Regions from separate parts of the Homo sapiens genome. Here region 2 is linked to region 1. The links are contacts of gene promoters, found by promoter capture Hi-C in blood cells and fetal thymus (Javierre and others, 2016). All regions are on one chromosome and are shown on one strand. The core of a region is centred on a gene start or on the middle of the fragment in contact, and the rest is flanking DNA. Distances in the headings are between cores, read along the strand shown. Region 1 holds the start of ALOX5AP (arachidonate 5-lipoxygenase activating protein). Region 2 has its middle 8.3 kb from the start of USPL1.

What was found. Contacts are between HindIII fragments. The CHiCAGO score rates a contact against its expected background, and 5 or more counts as called.
Region 2: a fragment that was not itself captured here is called in contact with the fragment with the promoter of ALOX5AP in region 1 in 1 of 17 cell types (neutrophils); the score reaches 5.1 in neutrophils.

The regions. Positions count from the first base shown.
Region 1 is chr13:30,734,055-30,737,008 of GRCh38, reverse strand. It overlaps ALOX5AP (arachidonate 5-lipoxygenase activating protein), which reads right to left and starts at 1,466. Exons shown (of 5, transcript NM_001629.4): 1 at 1,334-1,466. The coding sequence starts at 1,403. The region is part of intron 2 of LOC124903146 (a long non-coding RNA gene); the gene reads left to right. The HindIII fragment of the contact is 8,013 bases long and covers 1-2,954 here.
Region 2 is chr13:30,608,132-30,611,141 of GRCh38, reverse strand. It overlaps a transcript of HMGB1 not described here. Among named protein-coding and RNA genes, the nearest start is that of USPL1, 8.3 kb to the left of the region's middle. The HindIII fragment of the contact is 4,747 bases long and covers 1-3,010 here.

The DNA of each region.
Region 1 (2,954 bases), core at 217-2,716:
CATCACTGTAGCTGTTTTGTTTCCTGCTCTATCCGCCTGTACCCAGAATACTATCTGGGCCAGAGCAGGGTCTCTGTACATGTATGCGGGTTGAATAATGGAATCCTTGCCAATTTACAGGGCCAAGGGAGCCCTGTGTGAAATCATAATGGCTCAAGAAAATGGTGGCCTAAATAAGCCATTTGTTCCCTCTCTGAGCTACAACTTTGTTGTGTGTAATTTAGTATAAAAATGTTTGGGTCAGAAAGCCACAAAGTGTAGTTCTTGTAGAAAACATACTTGGAGTGTGTGAAGCTGAGCCTTTCTGGTGCAGAGGCTGAGGGGGAGGCTTGCTCTGTGCCCAGAAGGCTACATCACCAGCATCTGTCCACACTCAAGATGGGGGAAAATAGAATATCCCAAAGTGATTAAATACTCAAAGTTCCAAAAACGTGACAGCATGTCAATGTTCAGTAATCACCATAAAGCTACAGCAGCTGCCCTTAGTAATTACTCTTTTTTTCTCTATCTTAATAAATATAAAACACAAAGCCACTGGAGATAGTTATGAAAGTGGTCTGAGGCAGCCCTAACTCAGAACTTTAGGAAGACAGCTCTACACAATTCTCCCTTTTCCAGATCTAGGTATCCTGCTTGTTTTTTGTTGTTGTTGTTGTTTTTAACTAATAGCAGGAATAATGGAAATGCAAACGCTGAACAGGACAATTTTCCTCTCTCTCTCTCTCTTTCTGAAGTATACACTGCATATGAAAAATGCTTCCAAAATTATACGTGCTAGAGAAAAAGAAGGTATCACCAAAAAAAAAAGTTTCTTCAGGAGAAAAAAAGAAAAAAGTAATATAGAGGAAAAATAATAAGATGATTTTTTCTACGCACCTCCCAAAATCACTTTCTTTTTAGACTGCAGATGACTGGTAACTTCAATTGCACTGCAGATGTTAGAAAAGCCCAGTATCTGAGTAAATGTGTATATCATGTTCCCTTTCTAGTCTTCTCACCTTCCACCCCTTGCCTGGCCACATTAATTAATAGTTAAAATGCTGATCATAGACACTTCGGTGAGGGTTTTAGCAAAACCTTCAAGTTGCAGCCCTGGCTCTAAAAATGGGACTGGTAATCACCACAAAAGTGAAAGACTAAGAGGAGGAAAACCCCAAATTTACACAGAAATACACACAACCCTATACATTCAAATAAAAAGAAGAAAATAAAGATAAGGTAAAAGTGTTTGTGCATGCGCACACACAGACACAATTGTTTAAGCCTGACTTCCAAACAACCATCAAAGAAAATCTCCCCTTCTGTTCTTCCCTGAGTGAAGGGCTTTCCTTACCATTCTGGACCACGCTGATGAGGGTGACGATGGCCAACAGGACAACATTGCCTACAGTTTCTTGATCCATGTTTGCTTCAGGCTCCCCAGAGAGGACTGCTCTGCCTCCAGCTGCACAACCTGCCCTGTACAGGAAGGGGAAGTGAGAGCTTGCACTCTTTCATCATTACAATTTCTGAAGATCCCCGGCACAATTACACAGTGCCTTCTTCTTCCTTTTTTTTTTTTTTTTTTTTTTTTTAACTAACCACCAAAATGCCCTGGCTGTGGTTCAGTGTGTCCCACCAGGAGAAGCAGGGCTTGGCAGAGGAGCACGCAAAGCCAGCACACTCTCCTACATTTCCTTGTCATGGGAAACTTCCCTGAGAGTCTCCAGAATGAATCCTGGACCCAAGACCATGACCAGCACGAGCCCAGCACAGGCACCAGAGAATCTGGAAGCTGCCATCATCTCTGACTTCAGCAAAGAGAAAGAAGGGAAAGTAAACCCAAAACTTTCAGGTCAGACAGAGTGGCATAAACCTGTAACCCCAGCATTTTGGGTGGCTGAGGTGGGAAGATTGCTTGGGCCCAGGACTTTGAGGCTACAGTGAGCCAATGATTATGCCACTGCACTCCAGCCTGGGCAACAGAGCAAGACTGTCTCACACACACACACACACGCACACACAAATGTAAAATGAAACTTTAAAAAAATGTATAGAACACCAAAAGATCTGTGCCCCAAATACTGTCCTTCTTTTTTTGAATTCCAAGAAAAAAAGTGAACACTTAACACACGGTAAGTAGCAGCCACATAAGGTTTGAATGAAGGAAGGAATAAATGGCAGTGGGGAGGGACAGCTGATATCTCCATTTCTTCAGAGAAAAGTAATAAAGGGAATTCATAAATTAAACCAAAGAATTCAAACCAAACCAAAGAATTCAGGTAAAAGGCAGAAATGGAGTTACAGATGATCCCTAAGGGAAATTCCCAAAGGGAACTGACTTTTCTGAGGCAATCGCAGAAACACCTTCCTGGAAATTCTTTTCAACTGAATAAGAGTAGAGTGGCTGTGCTTTCTGAGAAAGTATAAGAGTGGACCTGCTGGGTGGGTGAGGTGGCTGCCTGGTATTCTGCAGCTCAGATCAGTGTGAATGGCAATCCCTCTGAGGTTACATGGAAAATGCAAAATACCTGCAATCTTTGTCCCAGACTTAGCTATTTGGCATTGGTTAAGAGGTGCTTTTATCAAAACTTCACTTTGAAAGGGAACATGGACCACTGTAACTAGTGGCAGCAGGGAGGGCTGCATCTCGGCACGGAAGAGGTCAGTGTAGGGGAAGATATTGCTCCCTCATAGGTACAGTGCCAGAGGCCCGCTTCAATGCCCTCGGTTCAGCTGAGAGAGAAAGGCTGATGAAGGCAGCGTGCAGAGTTGTGTGCGGGGAAGCCAGCAGCCAGGGCTGTCGGGCTGGTCATGACACACTTGGGTACTCCCTGAGTACCTAGGGCACTTTGTAGAGTATAGACTTTATATTAGCCAAGGCTCTCCAGAGAAACTGAACCAATATATAAATAAGTCTCCTCATATATATATATTGCAGATTTATAATAGAAATTGGTTCACATGCTCATGGA
Region 2 (3,010 bases), core at 498-2,997, 130 kb after region 1:
TGTTAGTTAAAAATAAAATGACTCCAGCCATAAACATTATACTTCTGCAACTGAGGATGACCGTAAAATCACTTAACTGTTTTGACTAGGTTGACAGCTAAATTGAGGGTCAGTTTAATGATTGAATTGTAACTGAGTGCTAATTGGAGCTGGTAATTGTTTAGTAAATGTATCAGTTAAGATACATTATTCATTAGATAAAAACTAATGAATAATGAAAACAGATTCATTTTTTAAAAAGATTTTTAAGCCACTGGTGGTCTTTAATATATGGTTCTCACCACATAAGTTAAAATGGGGACTGTTTTTTGGTGGTCTAATCTGATTTTGTAAGTTTATTTTTGCTTCCCTACCTCTGTTTTGCTAAGCAATATAGACCTTTTCTTCCCACTTTTTTTTTTTTGTTTTAGTGTAGGCATTAGATTTACAGATCTCATTTAAACTTGGCCATATATTAATCTCAGTTTTGTTACTTCATACAAAATATTTAACCTCCCTGAGGCTCAGTTTCACTGATAAAATGAAAACATCTACTAATCCCACTTCTGTTATTTAACTAATTTTGGCCTCAGGCAAATTATTTAACCTCTCTGGGCTTCAGTTTTTCCATGTGTGAAATGAAATTCTCTTAAATGAGGTAAGACATAGAACAATGTCTGGCAGTTAATATGCCCTCACAGCAGATGTTGGTTTTCCCTCACCCTTCCACCTCATCTAAACCCTGCATGTCCTTTACAGATTGCTTTAAATTCTGTTTTCTCTTTCCTTTTCCAACTCCTAGCACTCTCTTCTAGAGTTGTTGCACTTACCATATATACCATGGATTCTTAAATGGGTATTATTACAATTGACCCTTGAGCAACACAGGGGTTAGGGACCACCCTCTCCTTCCCCATGCTTTTGACTGCCCAAAAAACGTAGCTGCTAATAGCCCACTGATGACTGGAAGTTTACTGATAGCATATATTGTTGACTAACGTATTTTGTATGTCATATGTGTTATATACTGTATTCTTACAATAAAGTAAGTTAGAGAAAAAAAGTTACTAAGAAAATCATAAGGAAAAGTAAGTATATTTACTAATCATTAAGTGGAAATGGATCATCATAAAGATCTTCGTCCTTGTCACCTTCACATTGAGTAGACTGAAGAGGAGCTGAGTGGATAAAGAAAATGTTTATGTACATCGTGGAATACTATTCATCCATACAAAGGAACGAAATAATATCTTTTGCAGCAATTTGGATGGAGCTGGAGGCCAGTATTCTAAGTGAAGTAGCTCAGGAATGGGAAACCAAAAATGGTATGTTCTCACTTAAAAGTGGGAGCTAAGCTATAAAAACACAGAGGCATAAGAATCATACAGTGGACTTTGGGGATTCGGGTTGGGGAAGAAGGTTGGATGGGGGTTAAAAGACTACATGTTGGATACAGTGTACACTGCTCAGGTGACAGTTGCACTAAAATCTCAGAAATCACCACTAAAGAACTTATCCATGTAACCAAAAACCACCTGCACCCCCCAAAACTATTGAAATAAACAGGACGGGTTGTTCTTGCTGTCTTAAGCCTCATGGCAGAGGCTTAAGAGCAGGAGCATGTAGGGAGGGAGGGAGGAGAGGCAGGCACACTCGGTGTAACTTTTATTGAAAAAAATCAAATCCATTTTATAAGTGGACCCAGGCAGTTCAAACCTGCATTGTTCAGGGGTCAACTATATATTGGGAACTTGTTAAAACTGCAGCTGCTTGGGTTTCATGCATGATTCCATGAGTTTGGCATGGGGCCTGGGCATCTATATTTTTTTCTCCCTCAGATTTTCTTACGCTTACCAATGATCACGGCCTTTCACCTATTTGTTTTTTGTTTGTTTGTTTTTTTGAGACGGAGTCTGGCTCTGTCACCCAGGCTGGAGTGCAGTGGCGCAATGGCTCACTGCAAGCTCCGCCTTCCGGGTTCACGCCATTCTCCTGCCTCAGCGTCCTGAGTAGCTGGGACTACAGGCTCCCACCACTACGCCGGGCTAATTTTTTGTATTTTTAGTAGAGACGGGGTTTCACACCGTGTTAGCCAGGATGGTCTTGATCTCCTGACCTCGTGATCCACCCGCCTTGGCCTCCCCAAGTGCTGGGATTACAGGCGTGAGCCGCCGCGCCCGGCCTCACCTATTAATCGTGTTTTTTATAGTTTCTGTTTAAAACCAGGTGTTTTAGTTTAAACCTCAAATATACTATAAACTCCATGAGGGCACAAAATTAAACTTAGTTTAGAGGTTGATAAGTAATGCCCCACCTTTTTTATCTGCCTGTGTTTGGATCCAGTTAAATCACATGAAGATTGAAATTAAGTTTACTGAAAAAAGTTGTTTCAAAAGGTAGCTGAGATTTGGAGCAACAACGAGCTGCAAAGAACTAGGCAGATTTAAAATTCGAGTTTTTCTATCAACAAGAATAGAGCTTGTCCCACTACATTTACTGTGTAAGAGAGCAGGCCAAAACAAATGACCCTCTTCAGTCAGCCAAATCCCAAATGGAAAGAAGAGAGGAAGTTGGCCGAGCCTCAGAATTTTTTCTCCCAAACTTGCTGTCAGATCAGTTAGCCCCTCCTATCCTAGAAAGGAGTTAAGAGTAGAGGTCAGCCATGAATATTACGGTAAGGAAGTTTTATGTGGAGTATGAAAGAGCTTTCCTCATGCCCTCAACAGTACTCAATAGGTATTAATGGATTTTTTTTTTAGTACTTTGCATCGGGTTGCTGTGATTTTTAGTACCTAAATAAGTTATGAAGTTACAACTTCAGTTAAATCAGTATGTATTATTGTATTAGTTATATTTTGTTATGTAACAAATTATTCCCCAAACAGCTTAAAACAACAGACATTTGTCATTTCATACATTGTGTATGAAATGATACATGGTCAGGAATCTGGGAGTGGTTTAGCTGAGTGGCTCCAGTTCGGAGCCTCTTATGTGGTTGCAGTCATCTAAAGGCTGCTTGAGTGTCTTCACA